Regions from separate parts of the Homo sapiens genome. Here regions 2, 3, 4, 5, 6 and 7 are each linked to region 1. Evidence: promoter capture Hi-C in 16 types of primary human blood cells and fetal thymus (Javierre and others, 2016). All regions are on one chromosome and are shown on one strand. The core of a region is centred on a gene start or on the middle of the fragment in contact, and the rest is flanking DNA. Distances in the headings are between cores, read along the strand shown. Region 1 holds the start of KLHL2 (kelch like family member 2). Region 2 holds the start of TKTL2 (transketolase like 2). Region 3 overlaps MARCHF1 (membrane associated ring-CH-type finger 1). Region 4 overlaps MARCHF1 (membrane associated ring-CH-type finger 1). Region 5 overlaps MARCHF1 (membrane associated ring-CH-type finger 1). Region 6 overlaps MARCHF1 (membrane associated ring-CH-type finger 1). Region 7 overlaps MARCHF1 (membrane associated ring-CH-type finger 1).

Evidence for each region. The method cuts DNA at HindIII sites, captures the fragments that hold promoters and counts their contacts. A CHiCAGO score of 5 or more calls a contact.
Region 2: a contact is called between a fragment that was not itself captured here and the fragment with the promoter of KLHL2 in region 1, in 1 of 17 cell types (total B cells). The highest score is 5.7, in total B cells.
Region 3: a contact is called between a fragment that was not itself captured here and the fragment with the promoter of KLHL2 in region 1, in 1 of 17 cell types (monocytes). The highest score is 7.8, in monocytes.
Region 4: a contact is called between a fragment that was not itself captured here and the fragment with the promoter of KLHL2 in region 1, in 2 of 17 cell types (non-activated CD4 T cells and activated CD4 T cells). The highest score is 13.0, in non-activated CD4 T cells.
Region 5: a fragment that was not itself captured here is called in contact with the fragment with the promoter of KLHL2 in region 1 in 5 of 17 cell types (M0 macrophages, naive B cells, total B cells and 2 more); the score reaches 11.4 in M0 macrophages.
Region 6: a fragment that was not itself captured here is called in contact with the fragment with the promoter of KLHL2 in region 1 in 6 of 17 cell types (M0 macrophages, monocytes, total B cells and 3 more); the score reaches 15.5 in M0 macrophages.
Region 7: a contact is called between a fragment that was not itself captured here and the fragment with the promoter of KLHL2 in region 1, in 1 of 17 cell types (M1 macrophages). The highest score is 5.1, in M1 macrophages.

Annotation. Positions count from the first base shown.
Region 1 is chr4:165,205,175-165,209,223 of GRCh38, reverse strand. It overlaps KLHL2 (kelch like family member 2), which reads right to left and starts at 1,663. Exons shown (of 15, transcript NM_007246.4): 1 at 1,322-1,663. The coding sequence starts at 1,347. RefSeq lists a silencer at 1,362-2,011 and an enhancer at 1,542-2,042. The HindIII fragment of the contact is 2,287 bases long and covers 345-2,631 here.
Region 2 is chr4:163,472,890-163,476,938 of GRCh38, reverse strand. TKTL2 (transketolase like 2) reads left to right here and starts at 3,185. Exons shown (of 1, transcript NM_032136.5): 1 at 3,185-4,049. The coding sequence starts at 3,205. The HindIII fragment of the contact is 1,333 bases long and covers 1,123-2,455 here.
Region 3 is chr4:163,533,374-163,537,422 of GRCh38, reverse strand. The region is part of intron 9 of MARCHF1 (membrane associated ring-CH-type finger 1); the gene reads left to right. Among named protein-coding and RNA genes, the nearest start is that of TMA16, 41 kb to the right of the region's middle. The HindIII fragment of the contact is 2,117 bases long and covers 1,227-3,343 here.
Region 4 is chr4:163,553,805-163,557,853 of GRCh38, reverse strand. The region is part of intron 8 of MARCHF1 (membrane associated ring-CH-type finger 1); the gene reads left to right. Among named protein-coding and RNA genes, the nearest start is that of TMA16, 61 kb to the right of the region's middle. The HindIII fragment of the contact is 782 bases long and covers 1,860-2,641 here.
Region 5 is chr4:163,592,183-163,596,231 of GRCh38, reverse strand. All of the region lies in intron 7 of MARCHF1 (membrane associated ring-CH-type finger 1), which reads left to right. Among named protein-coding and RNA genes, the nearest start is that of TMA16, 100 kb to the right of the region's middle. The HindIII fragment of the contact is 4,571 bases long and covers 22-4,049 here.
Region 6 is chr4:163,611,414-163,615,462 of GRCh38, reverse strand. MARCHF1 (membrane associated ring-CH-type finger 1) reads left to right here. Exons shown (of 10, transcript NM_001394959.1): 6 at 2,070-2,149; 7 at 2,425-3,192. Among named protein-coding and RNA genes, the nearest start is that of TMA16, 120 kb to the right of the region's middle. RefSeq lists an enhancer at 3,626-3,675. The HindIII fragment of the contact is 3,754 bases long and covers 506-4,049 here.
Region 7 is chr4:163,657,806-163,661,854 of GRCh38, reverse strand. The region is part of intron 5 of MARCHF1 (membrane associated ring-CH-type finger 1); the gene reads left to right. Among named protein-coding and RNA genes, the nearest start is that of TMA16, 170 kb to the right of the region's middle. The HindIII fragment of the contact is 5,960 bases long and covers 1-4,049 here.

The DNA.
Region 1 (4,049 bases), core at 414-2,913:
TAGGGGTTCAGGTGCCTTCCTCCAGCCTGCTGAAGAACATGACCAAATCTCAGAGCCCTCAAAGCCACAGCTATCGAGAGGTGACTAAGCCCCTGCTTCTGTCAGCCCAGGAAGGCCAATTCAAGAGTCTTATCTACCCCCTAGATTTCCACGACCTGTTCCACTCAAGCTAAAAATTCTGAAACGCACTTTTAGAAACTGTCGTTCCAGAATCCCATTAGCTCTCCTAAAAGGGCTGAACATCAAAAAATTATTCAACCCAAGCCAAGTATCCTTATTTTGGCTGGAATTCTGCCAAATAACCACAAGAGACTGGTGCGGTACAATCGGCATGGAGTGAAGCTTGCCAAATTTGACCGGAGAACGACAAGCCTCCATGAATAAGCTCTCATGAAAAGGTAAACCATTCTTCAGGATGAGGTTTGTCTGCGATTTGAAAAGTCAGATTCAAAGGACTCTTGTTCCTTCCTAAGAGAAGAGGGAACCAAAATTGAAATTTTCGAAACTCCTGGGTATTTACAGTTCACTTTTACCAAGATGTTTTTAAAACTAAAAACTAAAATTTAAAAAAAAAACCCTTGTTCTGAATAATGCAATAATGTCTTCTACATAATGTTTCAGCTATTATTTCTAGAAAGTAATTCTGTTGCCAGTGATCTTGAATGTACTTGGGTACCAAAGAAAAAAGACACCTGTGCCTGGCAGGTCGATACGCTACTAATTTGCCCGAGGTACGAACGAAACAGAAGATGCTGATTTCTGGATAAAACGTTCTGCAGTGCCAGGTAAAAGAGGTCACATGCCCTGAACGGCCGCCGCTCATTTAGAGTGATGCAAAAGCTCCTCAGATATTAATTTTGTTAGAAATTCGGGGAATCAAGCAACCTAAGATCAATTCATTTAGACAGCGGGTGACTGGTACTTTCCAGTTTCCTTTTTTCAACGGACTCAGTGCATCCTAGCCTGATCTCTTATAAAGGGGTAGGCAAACTCGGCACCAGGTGCCCATGCATTTCAGGGAGGTACACACAGGACCTGCAGGGTCACCCATGCACAGCCCCACCCCGAATCTTCTATCCGCCCGAGATGGGGAAGACCCTTCCCCAGAAATCCTGGGCAGCGTTTTAAGTCACCGCCTGGCCAGGCTGAGTTTCCGTCCGCGTCCGCTCAGGACTGCGGGCACAGCGCCTCGTCACGCCCCGCATCTCCCACCTCCCGCCGGCCCCGGCGGCTGTCCCCAGAGCTGCGCCCGCGGCCGGCGACACGCGCCGCAGCGGCGCGCTTATCCGCAGCGGCGCAGCCCGCCCGCCCGCTCACTCACGCGGGAGGCAGCGGCGGCGTCTCCATTGTGGCTCCTCTCGGGCTTCAGAACGCAGGCACCGACCAACACAGCCAGCACCATTCCAGCCGCGGACGCCGGCACTGCCCGCCCGCCGAGCCGCGTTCCATCCGCCCCGGAGGGGGCGCCGCGCTCTCCTCACCGCGCGCCACCACCTGCGGCGGCGGCCCCCGCGGCCATGGCCCGCTCGGCCGGGCGCGCTCCGTCTACTGCGCGGCTCCCGCGCTCGCCCGAGTGCGGGGCGGCGGCGACGGGACCGGCGGGCGCGCGGGCTCGGCCACTTCCGGGTTCGGCCCCGGCCGGCGCCGACGCTGTGACGGGACTGCGATGCGGCCTCCCGCGGCGGCCGAGTACCCCTCCCTCGGCGCCTCCCCTTCCTCCTGCTGCTGCTGCTGCCGCTGCCGCTGCCGCTTCTGCTTCTGGAGGCGGGCGGGCGGGCGCCAGCCGGGTGCGGGGCGGGCGTGCCCAGACGCTGGCCCGCAGGCCGGGACGCGGGCGGCGGCCGCCCACAGCGGGTCTCTGGATCGCCGGGACGGGGGCGCTGGAAAATGGGAGCGGAGGGGGTTCTCCGTGCAGAAAAAGGGCGGCCGAACGCACGGCGTAATAATGCTCGGTATCCACTTGCTGCTCTGCTTCGCGGGCGTGTACACGTTATTCTTTTCATTTGTGCCTGTACCCAGGGAGATGGGAAGGGTAGGCATAACCAACCAGTGTCCTTACAAAGGGTGGCACTGAGGCAAGAAGAAGTGATTTGCCTGTCCAGTGTCCCAGGCAGGAAGCAGGCTCTCCCTCCTCAGTATGCTAGCCATTCCTTGGACAAGTGAAGTGAGCACCTGCTAAGCAAGGTTTTAGTGCTGCGGCTGTGACAGCAAAACCAAGTCTTTCTGCTTGTGGAGCTGTCCATCTAGACGGGGTGACGGAAACAGTAAGTGATGCTTACCATGAAGAAACATAAATGAGGATGAGGAGAGGGAAAGAGATTTTAGAAAGAGTGGTCAGAGAAGGCCTCTCAAAAGGCATGAGTTAAAGAGATGGAATAACAGGGGCTTTGAGTAATGCAAAGAATGCCTAGGGCAGAGGGAAGAGCAGCGTGGAGACTGCTAAGCAAGATCCTGCCTGCCTTGTTGAGGAACGGGAAGGAGAACAGTGCAGCTGGTGGTTCTCCAAGTATGCCCGCTGGAAGCAGTAGCACCTGCGAACTTGTTAGAGATGCGAATTTTCCAGTCCCACTTTAGCCCTACTGAACCAGAAACTCTGGGGGTGGGGCCCAGCAGCGTGTGCTTTAACAAGCTTTCCAGATGATGCTTGCTGGGGCCGCGAGGGTGGGAGACCCTCTAATGAAGCAGAGTGAGGTCAGGAGGACGGCGGCAGGAATGGGTGTGGCGAGGAGTAATCACAGATCACCCAGGCCTTGCAGGCCGTGATAAAGGACTTGGCTTTTACTGAGATTAGAAGCAATTAGAAAGTGGTGAGTAGCTTGATCTGATCATTAAAAGGATGACTTTTCTGGGATTTGTTTGAAAATATCCCACAAAAAGAAGGACAGAGGTCGGGCGCCGTGGCTCACGCCTGTAATCCCAGCACTTTGGGAGGCCGAGGCGGGCCGATCACCTGAGGTCGGGAGTTCGAGATCCGCCTGACCAACATGGAGAAACCCCGTCTCTACTAAAAATACAAAAAATTAGCCGGGCATGGTGGTGCATGCCTGTAATTCCAGCTACTCGGGAGGCTGAGGCAGGAGAATCGCTTGAACTAGGGAGGCAGAGGTTGCGATGAGCCGAGATCGTGCCATTGCACTCCAGCCCGGTCAACAAGAGCGAAACAAACTCCGTCTCAAAAAAAAAAAAAAAAAGGACAGAGAAGTGAATAGATGAATATTTGCAAAATGTTAATTTTTGAGGCTAAGTGTTGGGTGCATAGGGGTGGTCATCATTTATGTGTGTTTATGTGTATGTTTTAAAAGATAATAATGGGCCGGGCGCGGTGGCTCACGCCTGTAATCCCAGCACTTTTTGGGAGGCCGAGGCGGGCGGATCATCTGAGGTCAGGAGTTCAAGACCAGCCTGTCCAACATGGCGAAATCCCGTCTCTTCTAAAAATAGCCGGGTGTGGTGGTGGGTGCCTGTAATCCCAGCTACTGAGGAGGCTGAGGCAGGAGAATCACTCGAACCCAGGAGGCGGAGGTTGCAGTGAGCCGAGATCGGGCCACTGCACTCCAGCCCAGGCAACAGAGCGAGACTCCGTCTCAAAATTCATAAATAAATAAAAGTTCATAATACAAAGTTTTTTTTAAAAAAAAAGATGACTGATTGCTGTATGGGCAACATGCATAGCGAGGCAAGAGAGCAAGCAAAGAGATTAGCCTAGCTGGGATGAAAGGTAAGGATGGCTTGGATTAGAGTCCGAGTGACTGAGAAAAGTGAACAGGTTCTGAATCTGTTTAGAAGGTAAAGTACTCAGGAACTGCTGACAGATTAGCATATAAAAGAAAGATGATCCTAAGGGTTTTGTTCTGATCTCTGGGGAGAATTGAGTTGCCCTTTACTGGGATTGGGGATATTGAGAAAGAACAAATATTGGAGGGCGGGGTGGAGATTGTATTTGTAAACTCTGATTTAGATATGGTAAGTTTGAGATGTCTGTTAAACATCCATGTGAAGATAGGTGTAGACAATTAGATATATGTATCTGGGGTAGATATAAATTTGGA
Region 2 (4,049 bases), core at 540-3,039, 1.7 Mb after region 1:
TGTTCCCAGCCATATTGGGTAATTTTGCATTATGAAATTGTGCATACTTTAAACAAGTTGAGTATTCTTTAGTTGAAATTATTTGCTTGAGACCAGAAGTGTTTTGGATTTCAATTAAAAAAAAATTTGGAATATCTGCATTATACTTAACAACGGAACATTCCAAATCAGAAAAATCCCAAATCCAAAATGTCCTTTGAGCAGTTCCCCTGAGTAACATGTCAGTGCTCAAAATGTTTCAGATTTTGGAGCATTGGAAACATCAGATTTTCAAATTTGGGATGCTCTACCTGTATTTATATATTTTCAATTGTATATTTTAAAATATATTTCAAATTTAAAAGACTAAAATGCTTAAAGAAAATAATTAACAGCTTATATATGTTATTTATATAACATATTAATATAAAATTAATTTTATATAAACTTAATATATATTACATATATTGATATGAGTTTTTATATATAATATATATACTTTTATATATAGTATATCTTTCCAGATATTTTACTATATATATACTTTTATATATTTATATATATATATATATATATATCTTTCCAGAGTTCCTTTTACAAAATCTCAGAATGGTTTATAAGTATTTTACACATAATTTATAAAATATTATTTTCTATATAGTATAAAAAATTCACACGGTCTCACAGAATGATAGAGGGAAATTCACACTCACTATCTAGGGTATTAAATCTCCAAGACTACATTCTTCTCTTAATAAAATTGACCTTTGCTAATGTTAAAATTTTTTTATTTAATACTTTAGGAAATAGCTGTGCAATGTTTTAAATGAGTGAAAGAATGTGGGAACTTGGAAAGAAATGTTAAGAAGTCCCATGTTTTTATTCATGGGAACATTGCCTCATAAATCATTTTTGTACTATCATGTTTACTAATTGTGTGGATTTATTAGAGTTCTTTTTGGCCAAAATAATGGTGAGCTACCTGTGTTTATATTAACTACTTTCCTGTCAGCCTGTAGTAGTTTGCTATTATTTTACTGTGATTATTATTTTTTCTCTAATTCCCATCTTCTGTACTACCAGTTCTAGCCTAGTCTGCTTGTATTTCCTCCTCCTTTATTTGTCTAAAAAGATAAACAAGCTTTAATTTGCAAAGGACATGGAGAGTTATGGATACATGATGACCTCTTAAGAACTTCTCCAATGCCAACATTCCTGCAACAAGTCTTAAAATCAGTAGTGTCATATTATTACTATTTATTCTAATATGTGTCCTTAAAAGTTAAAATGATAGAACTAGTTGAAATAGCAAATAACATTTGAAATATTTTTCTGAGATATAATGCAAGAGATAATAAGTATAAAGAGTAACAACACCCCCTGAGTTAGTTGTTTACAACCCTGACTGAACATTGAAATTGCCTGGGGAAGATTTTAAAATTACTGACGCCTAGATCTATTGCCTAGAAATTCTGATATAATTGGTCTGGAGTGCAGCATGGACATGAGATGTTTTTAAAACTTCCCAGATAATTCTAAACTACAACTAATGTTGAGAACCACTGGTCTCAGACTATCTCCAGATTATGTTATTAACCTTGACTACCCATTATAATCAATGGATGTATTTTAGAAACATAGCTTCCCAGACTCCAGGTCCAGAAATTCAAATTCTATTTTTCTGGGATGGAACCAGGCATTGTGTTTCTTATGTGCCCTAATTTTAACGTGAAGTTAAGGTAAGAATTATTGCTCAAGAAACCAAGAGGTTTAACATCGCAATATGGGAAGGTATGATATATTATCATTGTGTTTTTTTTAATTGTTGTTTTATTGATGACAAACCATAACCTTGGCCTGCTAGAAGAGTTCAATGGCACAAATTTAGTTTTTTTTGTTTTAGACGGAGTCTCGCTCTGTCTCCCAGGCTGGAGTGCAGTGGCACAATCTGGGCTCACTGCAAGCTCCACCTCCCAGGTTCACGCCATTCTCCTGCCTCAGCCTCCCGAGTAGCTGGGACTACAGGTGCCCATCACCACGCCCAGCTAATTTTTTTGTATTTTTAGTAGACACGGGGTTTCACCGTGTTAGCCAGGATGGTCTCGAACTCCTGACCTTGTGATCCGCCTGCCTCGGCCTCCCAAAGTGCTGGGATTACAGGTGTGAGCCACAGCACCCGGCCCACAAATTTAGTTTTTTAAAGTAAGTAACTTTGTCTTAAAAATGATTTGTAGTAATAGTCATTAAAAGATAAACTGAGGCACATTAAAATATTAAAGCATTTATTTGACCATTCAGTGATTCATGAATCTGGTAGCTCCTGATAAAGGAGCCAAGGAGAAGGCTTTTATAGGGTGAATTTGGAAGCAAAGGAAAGATATTTGATTGGTTAAAGTGGAGTACTAGACTTATTTGGGTCATCCCAGTGGAAAGTCCCCAGTTAGAAGTTAGCTGGCAGTTTCTGATTGATTAAGCTTAAATTTCCTTTTTATCATTTACACTGATTTGGGTTTCCTTTCCTTAGGTAGGAACTCATGGAGCTGAAGCTACCTCAGCCTACTGGCCTTCTAATTATTTCAACACAGAAATAGTACTTTACGGCACACTGGAGTTGCAATTCTATTCTGCAATTGGGTGGTTTCAGATTTGTTCTTCCTATAAATTTTGGTCAAATTAGTCATTGCATTTCTTTCTATAAGTCTGAGATTCAGATATTTGGTTGCTCTGAGAAAGTCTCTGTTGAGATAGCATTGCCATACTGGTCAGATTGAAAGTGACTTTGTATCCTTTCTATTAATGTTCTGATATGAAAGAGTGATGACTCGGATATAGTGTTAATGCATTAAAAAAGCACAGCCTGACAAATCGCTTCCTATAATACACAGAAAAATGTCTAGTCTTGAATTTATAACACAGGGAAAGGTAAAAAATTTAATTATGCTTCCTAATGTTGAACATGCACGTGACAAAGTAAATACTAAAAATCCATTCAGCTGGGCGTGGACAGGGAGAGGGAACGGTGCACATCAGAGGGTGCAGGCTACTCCAACGTTTCCGTTTCCTCAGTCTCGCGGGAAGCTCCGTTGTGGGCGCCCCGGCTGGTGGCTGAGCTCAGGCCTTCAGGCAGAGGGGAGGCGAGGGCGGGGCGGTCACGTGAGAGCACTGCCGCGGTGGGTTGTGGGGGTGCTGCGGCGCCGTTTGCTTTGCCAAACCGACAAAAGAGAGATGATGGCCAACGACGCCAAGCCCGACGTGAAGACCGTGCAGGTGCTGCGGGACACAGCCAACCGCCTGCGGATCCATTCCATCAGGGCCACGTGTGCCTCTGGTTCTGGCCAGCTCACGTCGTGCTGCAGTGCAGCGGAGGTCGTGTCTGTCCTCTTCTTCCACACGATGAAGTATAAACAGACAGACCCAGAACACCCGGACAACGACCGGTTCATCCTCTCCAGGGGACATGCTGCTCCTATCCTCTATGCTGCTTGGGTGGAGGTGGGTGACATCAGTGAATCTGACTTGCTGAACCTGAGGAAACTTCACAGCGACTTGGAGAGACACCCTACCCCCCGATTGCCGTTTGTTGACGTGGCAACAGGGTCCCTAGGTCAGGGATTAGGTACTGCATGTGGAATGGCTTATACTGGCAAGTACCTTGACAAGGCCAGCTACCGGGTGTTCTGCCTTATGGGAGATGGCGAATCCTCAGAAGGCTCTGTGTGGGAGGCTTTTGCTTTTGCCTCCCACTACAACTTGGACAATCTCGTGGCGGTCTTCGACGTGAACCGCTTGGGACAAAGTGGCCCTGCACCCCTTGAGCATGGCGCAGACATCTACCAGAATTGCTGTGAAGCCTTTGGATGGAATACTTACTTAGTGGATGGCCATGATGTGGAGGCCTTGTGCCAAGCATTTTGGCAAGCAAGTCAAGTGAAGAACAAGCCTACTGCTATAGTTGCCAAGACCTTCAAAGGTCGGGGTATTCCAAATATTGAGGATGCAGAAAATTGGCATGGAAAGCCAGTGCCAAAAGAAAGAGCAGATGCAATTGTCAAATTAATTGAGAGTCAGAT
Region 3 (4,049 bases), core at 1,036-3,535, 1.7 Mb after region 1:
AGGACAAAGATACCTTGAATTGTACATAGGATCCCCAGGGAAAAGATTTAGTGCCTTCCTTTCTCTATCATTGTCCTTTTTTGTGGTGTACATTCTTTTGTCTTTGCTAACAATAGCATAGAAACTGACTAGTCTAACAGAATGTAAGAAGACAATTGGCTGTGTCTCAATAAAAGGAGGCAAGTACATCTTCCTGATGAAAACATTCTTGAAAAATCCATTTAGCCCCATTTTAGCATCTCCTCTCAAGATGTCCTTAAAGTGAGTTTTCCACATACAATCCTTATAACCACTCAACAGTAATTTATTTTGTAGAAAAAAATCGTGTCCACTTATTTGAAGGCAAGAAAAAGAGCTGGCTGTCTGTTAAAGATGGTCATTTGGACAGTAAGTTTGTATGAAGGCAAGCAAAAGAGCAGGCTGTCTGTTAAAGATGGTCATTTGGACAGTAAGTTTGTACTCAGATGGCTTTTGTATGTGGGGATTGGGGTGCTCTGCACTCTAAACTTAATGGAGGGGTTTTGTGGGAGATTTGACTTCCCAGGAACATATTGAAGGATGGTGTGGGCAGGGGAAACTGATTCAGAGATACCTTGTGAAGGAAAGTGGAGGGATCAGGCTGAGTCTCCCAAAAAGGGCAGAGAAAATGGCAACTGTTTCCCCCTGGCTCAGATTCCCAGGTATATTATAGGCTTTGGTCACTGTTTCTGGAAAGAGAGGTGAAACTTGAGTGGACTTTTCTTTAGATTGTCTACCATCTAAAGCATAGCTTTACTGACAGTGAAGAGGGGTTGTAAAAGCTTTCATTTATCCTTGAAATACCTACTGAGCAAGGAACTATGGAAAACAAAGTCCAGCCCAGACAAATTCTGTGCTCGTCAAGATTATAGCATGACACAGTAAAAATGCTTATGTTAGAAAGTGAGCTCATACTGCACACGGAGAAATAACATGGAAGTGTAACAGTGGGAAAACTTATTTCCAGCTGGAAATGACCTCTAAGATGGGTTTTGTGGGACAAGTAGACACATAGAAGCAGGGAAGCAAAACACAGAAAGAAAAAAGATCGGAGACAAAGGCTCAGAAATGGAAAACTTCCAGGCATGTATAAGGAACAGCTGCTAGTTTGGTTAAGCAGAGGAGAAAGCTGGATGTAGTCCATGAGAATTTCCCTAAAAATGGGAAATAAAGCACATTTCATCTCCAGTCTGTCTGTGGTTAAAGCTTTCTAAACACATTGAAACTACTGCTTAATATAAGTTTACAGCAAAAATCCTTTTGAATTTGGAGAACTGCAAGATGTCTTGCTCATATTCCAAATCCTTTCTGCAAATTTCCCAATAAAGAGACGTAAGTTATTGTCTTCCACAGCAGGGATTCTCAACCTCAGCACTATGGACATTATGAACTGAATAATTCTTTGTTGGAAGGTACTGTCCTGTGCATTGTAGGATGTCCAGCAGCATGCCTGGCCTCTAATAAAAGTCAGAAGCACCCCACTCCAGGTACAACAATCAACAATGTCTCTAGACACTGCTAAATGTCCCCCAGAGAACAAAACTGCCCCCAGTGGTGAACCTATGGTCTACACTGAGTCAGTGTTTCAGATGATTGTTCTCCTTGCATAGATGAAGACAGCCAAGTAGGAACTTAAGAAAAAAAAAAAAAAGCCCTTCTATATTCCAAATGCATGGACTCTCTGCATAGAGAATAATTTAGCTCTTTTTATTACTAACTACCGTTTGATGCCACTGTGTTACTTAGCATACAGGAAAAATGGACACAGGCGTCCAGCCATGTATAAATGTGTGCTGCCACTTATCTGGGACTATTAGAATCATCACATACTCCTGATTATTCTTCAGAACTCTTTAAATCACTTATGAAGACTTTGCCTTGGAGTATTTTTTAAATAAAAATAGCAAGTTAACTGCTATTTCCATGCAATACACAAATCAAATTTCAACACTATCAAAGATTACTAGGTCAAGATCATTGGGTAATAAGCTCACCTTTGGCATGAAATAGCAAAAGGGGGAGAAGAAGGGAGAATTGAAATAGATGGTCTTTAAAGGCCTTTGAACTCTGAATTTTTAGTTCAGTTATTTTGCTGGAACACCAGAAAAATCAAGAATAAAACAATTTGTATTGTATCAGCCTGATATTTTCTTTAAAAACTTTTTTATAAGAAAAATGATTCTTTTATATACCCCCCTCAATTTTTTTTCCAAAAATGAATAATATATGCAGGAATACCTAGAATATGTTAAAAGTGTGGAACGTATGTTTCGTTATGAACGATACTGTGAAATCTTTAGATGAGGAACTAGTGCTGTCAAAGTAGAACAACATTTTTTAAAAGTTGCACTAATGGTCAAAAATTATTATTACTACTTTAAAGTATTATATTTGTCTATAAGTTACTTGGGAAATTTATAAATAAGTATAAAGCAATTCATCTCATAATTGTATGTAATTATTTCTGTATTTTTTATCCTAAAATGAAAATGTTTCTGGAGAGTATTGGAATACATGATACAGTACCACTATTACCACTAGATAACAACAGTGCTATTATCGAACACGTGTTCGTTGCAAATGCATTTGTATAAATAAATCAAATCCAAGTAGCATACTTCTATTTTTAAAATTCCTATCCTTAAGATCAAAGAAGTCTATAGGAGAAAGGGACCATGGAAACATTTGTATACGACTAACAGACACTGATTAATGATAAATGCCTGGTATAGTCCATTTTCGTACTCTAAAGTTTCTAAAATCAAAGGTCTGTTTTCTTGACGATTTGTTTTCTAACATCTTTTAGCATCTTCTCTTAAGTAAATATATTGATAATTGAATCTGTTCCTTCAAAGAGTTTAACTCCATGATACACTAATTAATTTTTTTAAATAGCGACTTGGGTAGGGAGAGACATGAAACCGTCAGTCTTTCTCCTAGTTTTATTAAGAAGTTCAGAGTTACTCTATTTTACTCCAAACAACAGCATTTAATTAGTTAACATTAATAGGGTTTCTCCTGGACTACGATGTAGGGAATTTGCAATATTGTGAAAAGGCATCTTCTTCCTCTGGGCCAGATGGCAAAAAGATTTTTTCTCATGCCAACTCCAGAAGTTGACCTAGATTGTGGTGTTAGGAACCATGAAGCTATCATAGGGATTAGCAGGAAAGAGTGTTGGTAGTAATTAGGGCACGAATGCTGTGTTTGCCAACCTCATGACAGATTGCACCTTTTTCTCCCTGGAGTGGGTTCTGAAAGATTAGTAGAAGTTTATTGTAAAGAGCGCGGCACTCTAAACAGAGGAATAGCATGTGCTAAAGCTTAAACCTATATTAGGATGTGCAATGTTTGGAAAACAGCTACCCAGATAGGACTTTGGATAAAGTTTACTAAGAAAGGCACTGGATGAGAGAAATCAGGCAGCTGAGGATGACGATAAAATAAATAGAGGTATAGATCATGAGCATTTATTGTGCAAGACTGCAGCAAATTTTAGGCACAATAAACTCCATTGGGCATGGCTAAAAAGAAATGGAGTGTTTTTGTGCAATAGTTTCCATAAATATATCATGCATACATTACCAATTTCCAAATACCTAAATGCTCACAAACCCATCTCTTACTCGAAGAAATTCTATAAACTGACCTAGACACAGTGATGAATTCATGGAACTAATCTCTCAAGTAAGGAGCTAATATATATAAATATATATATATATATTATATATAAAAGACTATTTTTGGAGCAGATTTAGGTTAACAGAAAAATTACAAAGAAGGTAAAGAGAGAGTTCCCACATACCACCCTGCACATACACAAGGTTTCTCCTGTTATTAACATCTTGCCTCAACGTGGTACATTTGTTACCACTGAGGAGCCAATATTCTTACATTATTAAAGTTCATAGTTACATTGGGGCTCACTCTTTGTGTTGTACAGTTCTATGAGTTTTGACAAACGTGTAACGTCCTGTGTCCACCGTTACAGAATCATACAGAATGGTGTTGCCGCCTTAAAAAGTCCCTGT
Region 4 (4,049 bases), core at 1,001-3,500, 1.7 Mb after region 1:
TTTAATTTCTATCCCCTGGCTGTGATCCAATAATGCTAGAGAAATGGACAACTGAATCTTCAGTGAAAAAGTATTCAACATGAAGATTTATAAATAATAATCATAATAGTAAATAAGTGGGAATGAAGGATATAGGCAAAAGAAAAGCAAGGCTAACCCATTTTTATTAGGTTTCCAAAGAGAGAGGAAAGAAAAACGACAGGCTATTAAAGAACTTTTAAATGAGTTCCTTTCATGTTCAGTTCTCACTCTTGAGCTTTAGGAAGAAAAATGGGAACTGTTCTAGAATGTGAAAAATTATCACCTATGTCTCAAAAAATTTCACATAGAAAGCATAAAGGCCTCAGGAATCATTACAAAAAAACACACCCCTTGGCATGGGCTCCCAAAGACCCAGACAAATTATTCTGGTATCCTTGGAACTGAATGAGATTCTTAGTCCCCCTGAAGCTTTCTTTGGTTCAAACCAACTGCTGTCTAATTAGAGGAAAACAGTATTTGGAGATGATAGGATAGGACAGCTTATACAGCAAAATAATTAAACAAAGTTGAATATTGCCATGTAAACACAAATGAGCATTTTACACTTTCTCCCATCACCCAGTAGGATGAGAATCAACATTTGGGATTTCATCCTAAATGCTGTAAATGAGGAAATTTGGCCAGTTGTGGTTGCAAAGTCATTTTTTGATTTCCAAACATACCGAGTCCCTGAACCACAAGTTTCATTTCCCGCCTGTGGAGATTATGTATACCTCCAACCCTTCCCTGCTATCGCTATTAAATCAATTCAAGGGAGAGCAGTTTAAAGCAAGGACTTTAACTTGGAAAATGTCTCCGATTTCTTTGAGAATCCATTGAAAATCATGGACCTTTCCCCAGAAAAAAATAAATGCACACAATATTTTGTATACAATTTAAGAAATTTCTATACCCCAAAAGAATCTTCTCTTTAAAAAAAAAAAAAAATCTTCAGTTTTAGGACAAAATTCTTAAGAAACGCTGAGTCAGTATGGTGCCAAAAACAAATTCAAATGTAATATATTGAGCCAATTAATCATGCTTGATATCAAAGTACTGATAAAATGGATTTTTAGATATAGTAACTAAAACACTATTTTTTAAAGTATTATTATATCCAAAACTGGAACCAATACTTCAAGTTTCACAGGCTCTCATTTAAACTGGAGTAGAATATATGTACAAATATATATTCTGTTTTATTTATATATAAATCGTATATATATGATTTATTTCAAGTGTATATGTGGCTAAGAGACTCTCGAGAGTAAAAAAAAAAATCAACTCAATTACATTAAATACAATGTTCAGATGTGACACTGCTATTAAAGAGTGCAAATAGGATGTAAGAATTTTTTTGACCCATGAGAATAAGCATCAACAATGGATTGTCAGTAGATGAGCTTACTGTGGGTAGATACAAATAGACGGTTCCAAAAAGATTCTCTTTTTATTTGCTGCCACCCAAAGGAATATTCTAGAAAGACATTTCTAAACATACACAACAGAATTGAGAAAGGGATAGAAGCACTTATGAAATCAAAACCTATTATCTCTTATTGATGGAAAATTACACAGTTCCCTATTTTAACAACTACACAAAATTCCACAATTGGGACCCTAATATAAGCTTCATCAAAGCAGAAATCTTGGCTGTCTTCTTCCCTAGCATCCTACAACAATGTCCGATACATTGTGATGCTTTAATAATTAGCTCCTGAACGAAAAAAAATCTAATAATGTCATCTAATAATGACTGGGTAAGTCAACTCAGTGCTCTGGGCCTCAGTTTCTTCAACTAGAAAATGATGGGGTAAAATTGGGTATTTTTAAAAGCTTTTCTCTTTTAATCTTCCCAGTGTCTGTGCTTCTGCTTAGTACACGAGCACTGTCTCCTAAACGGCAAGGCTATGATCACTTAGGCACAGAGAGTGACCACAGACCTGTGCAGATTCCACGTGTGCCATAGCTGTTCACTGAAGAGGTAAGAGGCGAAGAGCCCACAACAGAAATGGGCTTCCAGGGAAAACATCATCAATGGCAGTGTCATCCAAGAGTCCGCTCGGCAAGGGTTTCAACCTCTGGGGAAGAGAGACTATGCCACTGTGAAATGTAACCCAATTATTCCTTTTGTTTTCTTTATGAAGCCACAATCCATAATTAAGTATCCTCATGGACACAGCTCAGTAGATTTTCTGCTGGTTCAACATGCCTGAAGCAGTAATATACTGACTTCTCTTTCAGAATGTGTGATAAAATATCTTTCACCATAACCTCCGAGAGAAAACAGACAACCAAGTATTGATTCAATATTTTTAAAGGAACTTTGTTTAAATGCATCTATTAATTAAACTTTCAAGTAATTTGTGTTCTTACATGGTGATATTAATCAACTCAGATTTAGGTGAGTTTTTTGGGGGGATATGGAAGGAGGTGAAAGTATATTCACTCTGTGAAAAACCGTCAGATATTACAATGCCACTCTAAAATATGTCCCTGAACTTTTCCTTCCTTAGGGAAGTAATTGTCAAAGTTCAGCATATATAAAAATCTCTCGGAGTGCCTGCCAGGAATGCAGATTCCTAGGCCACACCCCCAGATATAAATCTGGAACAAAGCTTAGGAATTTGCAATTTTAACTTTTATCCCAACAGTTCCACTGCAAATGTGCCTAAATCCCACATATTATATCTACCCTCAGGACAGATATACAAACATTTTTCCATTTCTCTTTTTTCCATTCATATCATCATTATGCGTGATATCATTACTCCCTCTAGTGGATGATTTTACTCAGCACCTTTTTTTCTATATTACAAATATCTTGCTTAAAACTTTTAGGAAATCCCATCTGTCATGAAAATCTTGAAAGAAACCAGTGAGAGATCAAGACAAGGTTTATAAGAAAAATTATTTTGGTAATCTAACATTGGGCTCATATATATTTACATATGCATGTAATAAGTAATGTGCATATATTTTGTAGAGAAATTCTTAATCATCATTTAGTTGACTGAACATAAAATGGCTTATCTGTTTTATAAAAATAATTTGGTAGCTTTGAATTTACTGGTCACACTATTTTTAGAATATTTATGCCTGGTTTACTTCCCTGTTTACTATGTGCTAACTAGATTATCTCATATAATTCCAGCAAACTCTATACAAGAGACACTGTTGTCATCCTGATTTTACCAATGAGAAAACTGAGGCATTAGGAGGTTAGGTTACTTGACCCAAGCCAGACAGGGGTCTCTGACCCAAGTCTCCCTAACCCAGGAGTCTGAGTTCTTAGTTGCTTCGCTCCAAGCCTCTCTGACCATGTGGCTTCTAGCCTGTTCGACCTAACTACCACATTGTACTCCTCTCCCTCCACACCACCCCAGGCCTCCTGCTCCTACCCCAGCTCTCTCTGCTCTCCATTGTTCTTTCCAACACCTTCTATGTTCCCTTGGCCTCTGACTCTACTAATACCTTTGCATTTGGACAATTTCTCATCTGGCAGTTGTTAACACCTCTCTCATGCATCCAGCAGCACCACTGAGTCACAATTCTTAGTGGCGTATTCCTCACATTGTAAACTAACGTGACAAGCATATCAGTACAATATATATCTCTTACTATTACTTTAAATAAATGCACCTTTTTCTAAAGCCTTAAAAATGATATTTCAACCATGCTTGGATTTATAAGTTGCATTTTCCCTGCTATCACACCTCTATTTTTTACTCAACTGGTGTGTCTCAAGTACTAGTCTAAATACTGCAAAGCAATGTGAGCCCTTCTTGGTAAAATACTGTATCAGCTAACCCCAAAAATGTTTTTGAAAAGTAAAAGAGTCTTCATGTATAGAAATCCAAGTGAATTAGCTTTTGAGGAAAAGAGCCATTTTTTTCATGTATCCATTCTTGGGTAGCTTCTTGGATTTTGCAGTCACTAAGTTTGTTAGAATAGCATCCCTGGGGCAGAGACAGCGGGACCTTTCTAGTCAGACTGCTTCTCATGTCCTGCGATGCCCACAGAAGACA
Region 5 (4,049 bases), core at 1,058-3,557, 1.6 Mb after region 1:
CCAGGAGCTTAATTGAAAGCTTAAAGTCAGCTTGGTCCATCCTTTGCTCTCTTCCTCCATAACTCATTCCCTTTCCTTTTCCCAAACTGATGCCTAAATTCTACCAACTCTAAGTTTATAAAATATCTGTTCTCTTTTTCCATTTCATTCTCACACTATGACACTAGCTTTTGTTCTCATTGTTATTGACTTTGACTATTGTGATAGGCTCTCCCTGTTCTCCCTTTTCTTTCTTATCTAATATGCCAAATTAATCCTTCTAATAATCTTACTTTTTTTATGGGCAAATAGTTTATTTATCTTTATTGTGGTTAAAAAACCCTTAACAGGAGATTTACCTTTTTAATAAATTGAAGTGTGGAGTACAGTATTTACTGTTAACTATAGGCACAGTGTTGTACAGCAGATCTCTAGAACTGAATCATCATCTTGCATAATCAAAAATTACTCCCACTGAATAACAACTTCCCATTTTCCCCTCTCCCCAGCCTTGGCAGCCACTATTCTACTCCCTGTTTCTTTGTGTTTGACTATTTTGTACATTTCATATAAGTGATATTATGTGATATTTATCCTTCTGTGATTGGTTTATTTCATTTGGCATAATTTCCTCAAATTTCATCAATGAACAGCCAATCCTGTAGCAAATGGCAGTATTTCCTTCTTTATTTAAGGCTGAATAATATTTCATTGTGTATATATACCACATTTTTTGGAGACAGGGTCTTACTGTGTTGCCCAGGATGGAGTGCAGTGGCATGATCATAGCTCACTGCAACTGCAATCTCTCGGGCTTAGGCAATCTTCCTGCCTCAGCCTCCCAAGTAGCTGGGACTACAGGCACATGACACCACACTCCGCTAATTTTTTTTTTATTTTATTTTTAGTGAAGACAGGGTCTCACTGTGTTACCCAGGCGGGTCTCAAACTGAGCTCAAGCAGTCCTTCTGCCTTGGCCTCCCAAAGTGCTGAGTTTACAGGCATGAGCCACTCACTGGCTTATACCATATTTTCTTTCTCTATTGATAAGTTGATGGACATTTAGGTTGTTTCCGTAGCTTCACTCTCAAACTGAGCTCAAGCAGTCCTCCCGCCTTGGCCTCCCAAAGTGCTGAGTTTACAGGCATGAGCCACTCGCTGGCTTATACCATATTTTCTTTCTCTATTGATAAGTTGATGGACATTTAGGTTGTTTCCGTAGCTTCACTCTTGTCAATAATGCTGCAATGAACATGGGAGTTCAGATACCTATCTGAGGTCCTGATTTCAATTCTTCTGGATACTTAGACGTGGGATTGCTCGCTCATATGGTATTTCTATTTTTAATTCTTTGAAAAACCTCCACACTGTTTTCCATAGCAGCTGCACCGTTTTTATTCCTAACAGCGTACAAGGGCTCCAACTTCTTCACATCCTCAGGAGCATTTATCTTGTTTGGGTTTGGGTGTGTGTGTGTGTGTGTGTGTGTGTGTTTGTGTTTTGATAATAGCCATTCTGATGGGTGCGAGGTGACATTTCACTGTGACTCTGATTTGCATTTCCCTGATGATTAGTGATTTTGAACACCTTTCTATATAGCTGTTGACCATTTGTATGTCTTCTTTGGAGAAATGTCTTTTTAGCTCCTTTGCTCATTTTTTAATGTAATCTTAATTTTTTATTTAAATTATGTAGTGGGTTCCTACTCAACTAAATACAATTAAAGTTAGTTTGTGTGTGTGTTTGTGTGTGTGTGTGTATTGGCACTGGTTGAGGGAAATACCAGGCTCTGTGTAATCTTTATTTTTCAGCATGATATCTCCCTACTAAAGTAATTAATTGTATTATTATATCATATAATAATAATGTGGTATTATTGTATATACTAAATAAATATACTAAATATATACTAAATATTGTATTTAGTTGGAGTAAGAACTTTCATGCTCTTTTCATACTTGGCCACATAATGTTACCAAATTACCCAGTCAATCCTACTTCTAAGCATTGACTGAAAACATCTTCTATGCCTAGTATATTCTACCAACATCCTTCTCCATCTGCCATAATTCTACCCCAGCTTCAATTCCAATTCCCATGCCACATCTTCCATTAAACTTTCTACCCTCCCCCGGTCCCCAATCTGAGATGATCTTTCACTCCTTTGCATACAACAGCACTTGACATGGCACACATCCCATTTTAAATGTATCCTGTCTAATTTTGCAGTTGTCTGATGCATAAACTGTCAATATAAACTTCTTAAAGGAAAAAGACTGAGACTAATTCATCTTTATATTTACCATAGGACCTTATAAAACCTTGCATATATACATAAGCAACAAATTACTTGTTGACTGAATGAATGAATGAATGAGTGAATAAATGAATAAAAGTTGATCATTCTTCACTCAATGTGGTTGGAACTGCTGTAAAACATCAGTATTTTGTACTTACTTGCCTTTGTAGAAGAATTCATATGCAAAGGCGTATTTCTAATTCAATGCATTTTTGGTTATCTGTAAATAAAGTGCCTGCTTTGTCAATTATCCATGGCAACTTGAGACTTTCTTTGATGTAATGCTCAGCCAGATAAGATTAATGAGTGGACAAAATTGGAAGGAAGTCATGGTTGAGGATGAGCTTAGAAAAATTCAAACACCTAGCCATCACAAAAAAAAGATCAGAAAATCAGTTTGAATTAAGAATTTCTGCCACATGCAGAAATGAAAAAGGCTAAAAGGTTATAACTGCATAATTTTTCTGATAGCTGTTATTATGTATATACAAAAGCCTTCTCCTGTATCTGACCATATATATTTCTTTGATTATAGCTACATATTAAAGCCAAATGAGTTTTTATTATCTGTCCCTTTGTTTTGCCTTTTTACTTCAATGTATGCAGCTAACAAAAATTTAGCCTAATAACTGTAAGCACATTTGCTTAGAAATATCTCTAGTTTAATTTTGTCAGTCTTACAAATGCACCCAAAAAGACCTCAAAGCTGATATAAAATGAATATTTATGACATATGCAAATGTAGAGAAAATCATAACCTTCGGATATTCGTTCAATATATATTATCTATTTACTTATCCACAAGTCATCAAAATTGTAAGGTAGGATCTGGAAAGATAAATGGCACTGGGGAACTCATTTCCTTTATGCAGAAATACATGGTCCTCTGAGCTAACCAATGAGTATAGAGAGGGCAGTAAAGCGATGGTTAACAGGGAAGGGATTATCCTAAAAGATGCAATCCAGCTTTTGATTTCTCCTGATTTGGAGGATTTGGACAGTCTGAGCTGATCTTAAGATTGCTAGATATACTGACTGGGACTCCTAGGGGCTACACACATCAATAGAGGGAATGGGGGAATCTTAATGTGTTTCAAGAGCCCATGGAGACCTCTCAGATAGTCTTCAAAGAGGCTCCGGCCCACTATGAGACTGAACCACTAGGCTAGATGATAATAGAATCTCAGTGGGAATCCTCAGTCCCAAGCAGAATTTAAAGTCCTAGTATCAATGGCATCGAACCATCTCCAGAGGGGATGAGACACCCAAGAGAAGCAATTCCAATAGAATCTTCCCAATCCATTGCAGAATTCAATGTCTGTGAATTCAAATAAGACTTGGCCTCCTCTGCTTTCATTATTGACCAAGCAAGGTGATCATTATCTTCTTCTCCACTGTTTTCCATCAGTGTGATGTCTGGTGGTGAAAAAAAAAAAAATGTGGCTGATTACTTGCGACTCTTGGATCAGCTCCAGGAATAGAGTTAGGAAAGCCAGGGACATTGCCATGTCATTGTCTTTGTTGTTGATCATTCCCTACAGCTCTGTGCAGATGGTCTGAGGTTTTGACCAAGTCAGTGGTGACAAATTAGGGCATGAAATTAAACTCAGGAAGTCATGCTATGTAGCAGCTTTTTTGAGTTGAAAATATTCCTTTGAGAAAACAAAACACTTTTAAAAAATCACATATGTATGAAGAACTGTCACTCGTCTGCACATGTAAAAAAGAGTACATATTCAGAATGACAAAACTTATGATTACAAAAATGGTA
Region 6 (4,049 bases), core at 1,133-3,632, 1.6 Mb after region 1:
CTTTTGATTTCTTTCTCATCTACTTTGTTTCACTGGGGTTTGGAAACACTATTGATTTTTGTATGTTGATGTGTATCCTGCAAATTTACTGCATCTGTTTATCAGTTCCAGGAGTTTTTTGGTGGTGTCTTTAGGTCTCTTAACAAATGGTTTCCTCTACCTTAAATATTTTTAAGCTTTTAAAATAATTCCTATTTGCCTTTTAAGATTAGCTGGATCGTTACCTCCTTATTAATTTCCTATAACTACTATCATAGGGATCACCCCACCTCCTGGGACCTAACCTGCTGCAACATGGCACCATTTTGAGAGCAGAGCCACCACCAGAATACATCACGTCCTGGGATCCAGTAGTCTCTGCATCTGCATTTCCCTGGGGCTTTGTCGTCTTATAGTTCTAGAGGTCAGAAGCCAAATAGAGATCCCACTGGGCTAAAATCAACATGTTAATAGGGCTGAATTCCTTCTGGAAACTCTAGAACTCATTTTCTAGCCTTTTTAAGCTTCCCCATGCCACCTTCCTCAGGGTTTCCCTTTTTTCACCTTGAAAGCCATCAGTGTAGTATCTTCCTCCTTTCTTACCTCTATTCATATTCTTCATCTTCTCTCTCTGACTAACTCTACTGCCTCCCTCTCATAAGGATCCTAATGGTTACATTGGGTTTACCAGTATAATTTGCATAAATCTCCTCAACTCAAGATGGTTAACTTAATCACATCTGCAAAGTCCCTTTTACCATAAAAGGTAAAATATTCACTATCCAAAGATTAGGATGTTGAGATATTTGGGGGGACCATTATTTAGCCTACTATACCTTCTCTTCAAATATGACCTGATCTCTTGAGTTAGAATTTGTTCCTTTTTCTCTGGATTTCAGAATCATGATTACATAGTTCCAATATGAGAATTTTTAGAATGACTTCGAAATTTGGGGTAATCTTTTTACCTTTACTGTTATTTTCTTGGTGACGAAATTGTGCATTTCATCTCTGCAGTCAAACAGGCCTGAATCTGGACCCAGATCTCCACCCATAGTGGAGCCAGATACCTGGTCCAGATCTCAGCGTTACCACCTATCAGTGAGAAGCAGCCCCAATTTTTCAGTTTCCTCAGCTGTAACATGTATGTAATTATAGTATTTACTACAAAGATTTATTGTGAGCATTAATGAATATATGGAAATGGCTTAGAACACTGATAAGCACATATTATTCACTCAAAACTGTTAGTTATTATTACTTTCCACTTGTGAGATTATTGTAGAATTAAAGAGACAGTAAATAAAGCTACAGCACAATGCCTGGAACATAGAAAATTATCCCTACATTCTAGTTTTTTATTTATCATCATAACCTATATTAAATACAACAGGTTAAAGTCAAATAGAGTGAAGAAAATACTGTTTCAAAGGTAGGACTTTAGTGAAATGCACTCAACTTTATGCTAATAATCTGATGTTTCAGGCTTTCTTATTTTCAGACTTAGTATGGTTATAGGGTTAAAAGATATGAAAGGCCAATAGTGTTGCAAGGGATATATTTTATTAGTTTCATTAATGAAATTTTAATAGCAATAAATTCAGGCTTTTAAATATTACAAAGTATTTTCAAATATCTCATGGGGCCTTGATGTTAGCTTCAGGAAGTATCTAGCAACCTAATGGCTGTTTGATTAGACTTCTCAGACTATTATTATCCTTGTCACATAATAGTGCTTTAGTCCATGTATCATAGGATCTTCAAGTATTATTCATTTGTTTCCAAAGCAAATTGAGCTATTCCACTCAAATGATTACAGTAAATAGAATAGAAACTTGTGGAATCATCTTCCTCTCTCGTAAATGAAGTAACAGCAAAATAGCGCAGCATCTCAGCTGTTCCAGGTTCCTCAAATAAGTTTTACTTTTGCAAAACCAACCTCAAACTTCCTATATTCTCTGTTCTGCATTATAAGCAACATGACCAGCAGCCACGTTTGTTGTAATTTTTTAAATATGTGGAAAAAAAGCAAGATATCAACCATGTATTACCTTAACCAAGATGCCAAATTATCTAACTTGTTTCTCCAGGCAAGCAGCCCAACAACAGGGACAGCTCCCAGGAGCCAGTCAAGGTTGTCTGTCTGTCCATCCACTCAGGACATCTGCAGGTAAGTGCTGAACAAATTATCTTAATCTATATTCTTTGGATCAATATTCGTATTCTTGTTGTTTGTTCTGAGAATGTGTGTCTCTTGCTTCTGCTTTACATGGTCCATAGAAAATTTATACTGGCTATTTTTTTTCATTTAGTTCATTTTCTTCAGTTGATCTTTATTTATCTACTTCTGGTCCATGCTGTCATTTTCATCATTCTCTCTCTCTGTTTTTCCATGGCTTTCCTCTCCATTCCCATTTCCCATCCTTTGCCTGCTGCTCTGTCTAGATCTGCCATCTTGCATGACATGTCAGAAGAGTCATTTGAGTATTGCACCCCTGTCATGGTGCTGAGCCCTGCTAGGAAGGAGTCTGGTAAGAAATCAGTAATACAAAGACCTAGGAGGAGGAGAAAAGCCTCTGAGAGATATGAGCATGCTGCAGAAGAACAAATAAGAGGGAGAAAAAATGACTTTCACCTTCAAATCTCAAGCCCCAGGTGGAGGGAGCTTTACACAGATTCTTCAGATTCATCTTCCACAGATGAGAGTCATTGGATTCAGGCAAAAAGAAGAGCCCAGGTTAAATTCAGACTGTCAAGAAGAAGGAGGAGAAATAATAATAAGCCGTGTGAAAACTTAGCTGGGTCTTCCACTCCTAACGGAATTGAGCTCGTTGATCTGGGATCCAAAGGTAAAGAGCAACAAGAGCTGATTGAATGTGAGAGTTGCTCTTTAAATCTCCACAGAGGAAAACATACAAGGTACCAAGAATGCAACCCTTCTCTGACTCAAGGGTCCTCTGAAATTAAGAGATCCTCAAGGAATCATGAGAAGAGCAAAGGCAGATATCACCACAGAGATCCTCAGCTCTTGCAAAGTCTTAGGAAAAATGAAATAATGAAGAAGACATTTTCAGAAACAGATTCCAGCACTGAAATACTGGGAGTTCCAGAAGGCAGCAAGGACATGAATGATGCAGGGCTCCAGGTGAATAACCCTGTTCAGAAGCCTCCTGCCACCTATGACGATGGGTCTGATAATTTAGAAGTATGCAGGTCAGTCACTGTAGAGAAAGGCTTGATGTCATCCATATATAGTTCTTTTTGCAGTGAGTTAGGTGCGTGTTTGACACCTACCCTCAAAACTTAACATTTATTTACATTGTTCTTTTTCTGATTGGATATAAAAGGAGAAAAGGTGGGTATGAAAAGAATAATGCAGATGTAAACATGGGTGTGAAAGCTGTTACCAAGTACAATTAGATATCCCCTTCCTTTAAACTGAATAATGATTTATCCTGGTAAAGGGGCTGACTCAGCTGAGTCTTGCACTCATTCTAGTTATGACAGTAATAGTGGGGGAATTAAGAGTGAGACTGTGTGAAATGTTAGACTTTTCAATGCAAATTTGCTGGCATCCTGACAGAAAGATATTCAAGGCTTGAGTTCTTTAAGGTCAGATTTTTGTATCAGAAAATAACATTCTCTGCAGTTGGCTTTAATTTGTTCTCCAATTGTTTGACTCAGCAGGGTAATTGAAGACTCAAAGGACACAGAAACAGGTCAGGGACGTATCAGTGGGGTTGCAAGAGCCTGTAGGGAAGGGGGCCACATTAACTTTACTGATAAACATATACCGAAAGGTTTCAACATGTGGATATTTTCTAGCTATGTGGCAGCGTTCTTGCTCTTTTTAACTCAACAGCATATATTTTCAAAATAACCTTACATAAAAAGAATTATAGGAATATCCAAGCTAGTGTGCATAAATGAGACAATTTCAAACAAAAAAATATATTTGTACATTTTCATATTATACCTAATCATTTAAGCTGTTTAGATTCTGTATGAGAGCAAATGAAGATTTTCACTGCGCAATACTTGTTATGTTTTGCTTTGCTTTTATAAAAGCA
Region 7 (4,049 bases), core at 448-2,947, 1.5 Mb after region 1:
ATAAAACTCTAGAAAATCCAAACTAATCTGTAGTATTAAGTAACAGGAAGAAATCAGCAGTTGCAAGGGGAAAAGGGAGAGGAAAGAAGATACACTGCATGGGCAAGAAAATACTTGTGGGTGATTGACACGCTCACTCACTTGACTATGTGGATGGTTTCAAACATCTACACATTTCTCAAAACCTATTAAATTGTATGCTTTAAATATGTTGTTTATTGCATGTCAATTATACATCAATAAAGCTATTAAAAACTTTTTAAAGTATCAAAATTTTGCATCCCGTTCTCTGATACTGACATCTGTATTTTTTTGAAAAAAAGAAAAGCATCTAGAAAAATGAAGATACTGGATTCAGGAAAAAGGGCTTCCAAAATAGGAGAGACACAAAGGGAATCCCCAGAATGATGGCAAAGAAAGTTGTCAGGGCAAAGCAACAGCTTGAAATCATGCCTAAAAAGCCAAAATTTCAGATCACAGAAGAACAGAAGGCTCCAGAGGAAAGTACTATGAAAAACAAAATAAAATTAATAGATTTTCTGATGTATTCGAGTGTGGAGAGAAAATATAACTTCTAGCAAGATGAGGGATGAATTTCAGGGAAGATCATAGAAAATTAAGCAAAAAGCAAAAAGACAGCTAGTAGCAAAAAGTTAGCATAGCAGGTGACTTAATATTCGTGTAGCCAAATTATTATACAATCTTATTTGGAGAACAGAAGAAAGAGATGGATGGGCAAGGGAGGAGTTCAGGAAGAATCAGAAAGACAACTAAATTTCCACAGTAACAAGTCAATAAACAGCATCCAATTAAATAAATAGTGATAATACAACCAAGATTATCAAATTTTTAGGAATACAAAGTGTAAATACCTAAAGAAATATAATACCTCAATGAGCTGAAGGTGATGTGTCTACAGAGGAAGAATCAGAGTGAAAATTATAACCTAGGTCTACTTTGAATTACATAATAGATGAGAAAGAATGGGGAAACATGAGTCAGAGAAAAATGGGAATTTTTTTGAATTTGGATTCTTTAATAGGCTCAAAATAAGTGTCATACAGAGTGTTTATTCACAGGCTTGAATGAGAATTGAAGAAATTCTGACAAGTTTAATATCCGTCTGTGATTAAGTCTGGCAGAATACAGGTCATTGAAACAGACATTTTAATTGAGTTTTATAAAACTATACAAATCTTCCAAGTGATCATAAACCAGTTTCTCATTACATGTGCTTTAACGCAACTTTTTGAAAGTCAAACAATTACAGTTTTTTTTTTTTAAGTTTTACTTTAAGTTCTGGGATACATGTGCAGAATGTGCAGGTTTGTTACATAGGTATACATATGCCATGGTGGACTGCTGCATCTATCCACCCGTCATCTATGTTTTAAGCTCCTCATGCATTAGGTCTTTGTCCTAATGCTCTCCCTCCCCTTGACCCCCACCCACCGACAGGCCCCGGTGTGTGACATTCCTCTCCTTGTGTCCATGTGTTCTCATTGTTCAACTCCCACTTATGAATGAGAACATGCAGTGTTTGGTTTTCTGTTCCTGTGTCAGTTTGCTGAGAATAATGGCTTCCACCTTCATCCATGTCCCTGCAAAGGACTTGAACTCATTATTTTTTATGGCTGCATAGTATTCCTTCATATATATGTGCCACATTTTCTTTATCCAGTCTATCATTAATGGGCATTTGGGTTGGTTCCAAGTCTTTACTATTGTAAATAGTGTTGCAGTAAACGTACATGTACATGTGTCTTTATAGTAGAATGATTTATAATTCTTTGGGTATATACCCAGTAATGAGATTGCTGTGTCAAATGGTATTTCTGGTTCTAAATCCTTGAGGAAACGCCTCACTGTCTTCCACAATGGTTGAACTAATTTACAGTCCCACTAACAGTGTAAAAGCATTCCTATTTCTCCACATCCTCTCCAGCAGCTGTTGTTGTTTCCCAACTTTTTAATAGTCGCCATTCTGACTGGTGCGAGATGGTATCTCATTGTGCTTTTGATTTGCATTTCTCAAATGACCAGTGATGGTCAGCTTTTTTCCGTATGTTTGTTGGCTGCATAAATGTCTTCTTTTGAGAAGTGTCTGTTCATATCCTTTGCCCACTTTTTGATGGGGTTTTTTTTTTCTTGTAAATTTGTTTAAATTCCTTGTAGACTCTGGATATTAGACCTTTGTCAGATGGGTAGATTGCAAAAATTCTCTCCCATTCTGTAGGTTGCCTGTTCAGTCTCATGATAGTTTCCTTTGCTGTGCAGAAGCTCTTTAGTTTAATTAGATCCCATTTGTCAATTTTGGCTTTTGTTGCAATTGCTTTTGGTGTTTTGGTCATGAAGTCTTTGCCCATGCCTATGTCCTGAATGGTACTGCCTCGGTTTTCTTCTAGGGTTTTAACGGTTTCAGATTTTACATTTAAGTCTTTAATCCATCTTGAATTAATTTTTGTATAAGGTGTAAGGAAGGGGTCCAGTTTCTGTTTTCTGCATATGGCTAGCCAGTTTCCCCAGCACCATTTATTAAATAGGGAATCCTTTCCCCATTGCTTGTTTTTGTGAGGTTTGTCAAAGATCAGATGTATACTTTTAAGATAACAGTGTTTAATGAAATTCATGAAAATCATGAATCCTTAGATTTAGGAACATTTATACCTTCTGAGTAAAAATCTAGACTAGAGAAATGTAGTGAATGCAATACACAAAAGACAATGAGGAAGAGCAGAACAAGAAAGATGGCTGACTCTAAATAAACTAATACCATATTTTTCAATGAAAACAATAAAATCCAGAGAACAACAGCATACTATTATGAAAAGATTTTATAAATTGTTAATATAAAATGATATATCCAGCTAAATCATTTTTTTTTCTTTTCTTGATCCTTTTTATTTTAAGTTCCAGGGTACATGTGCAGGATGTGCATGTTTGTTACATAGGTAAACATGTGCCATAGTGGTTTGCTGCACCTATCAACCCATCACCTAGGTATTAAGCCCAGCACACATTAGTTATTTTTCCTAAAGTTCTCCCTCCTCCCACATTCCCCCGACCATCAGGCCCCAGTGTGTGTTGTTCCCCTCCCTGTGTCCATCAGTTCTCATTATTCAGCACCCACTTAGAAGTGAGAACATGCAGTGTTTGGTTTTCTCTTCCTACATGAGTTTGCTGAGGGTAATGACTTCCAGCTCCATCCATGTCTCTGCAAAGGACATGATCTCTTTCCTTTTTATGGCTGTATATTATTCCATGGTCTTGATAGTAGAATGATTTATATTCCTTTGGTTACATACCCAGTAATGAGATGGCTGGGTCAAATGGTACTTCTGGTTCTGTGTCTTTGAGGAATTGCCACACTGTCTTCTACACTGGCTGAACTAATTTACATTTCCACCCACAGTGTAAAAGTATTCCTATTTCTCTGCAACCTCACCAGTATCTGTTATTTCTTGACTTTATAATAATCACCATTCTGACTGGCATGAGATAGTATCTCATTGTGATTTGCATTTCTCTAATGATCTTTTATGACATTGAGCTTTTTTTCACGTTTATTGGCTGCATGAATGTCTTCTTTTGAGAAGCATCTGTTGATGTCCTTTATCCACTTTTTAATGGGGTTGTTTGTTTTTTTCTTGTAAATTTGTTTAAGTTCTTTGTAGATTCCGGCTATTAGACCTTTGTCAGATAGATAGATTATAAAAATTTTCTCCCACTCTGTAGGTTGCCTGTTTGCTCTGATGATAGTTTATTTTGCTATGCATAAGCTATTTGGTTTAATTAGATCAATTTTAGCTTTTGTCGCAATTGCTTTTGGTGATTTTTGTCATGAAATGTTTGCCTGTGCCTATGTCCTGAATGATATTGCCTAGATTTTCTTCTAGGGTTTTTACAGTTTTCGGTTTTACATTTAAGTCTTTAATCCATCTTGGGTTAGTTTTTATATAACATGTAAAGAAGGGGTCCAGGGTTCAATTTTCTGCATATAGCTAGCCAGTTCTCCCAGCACCATTTATTAAATAGGGAATCCTTTCCTC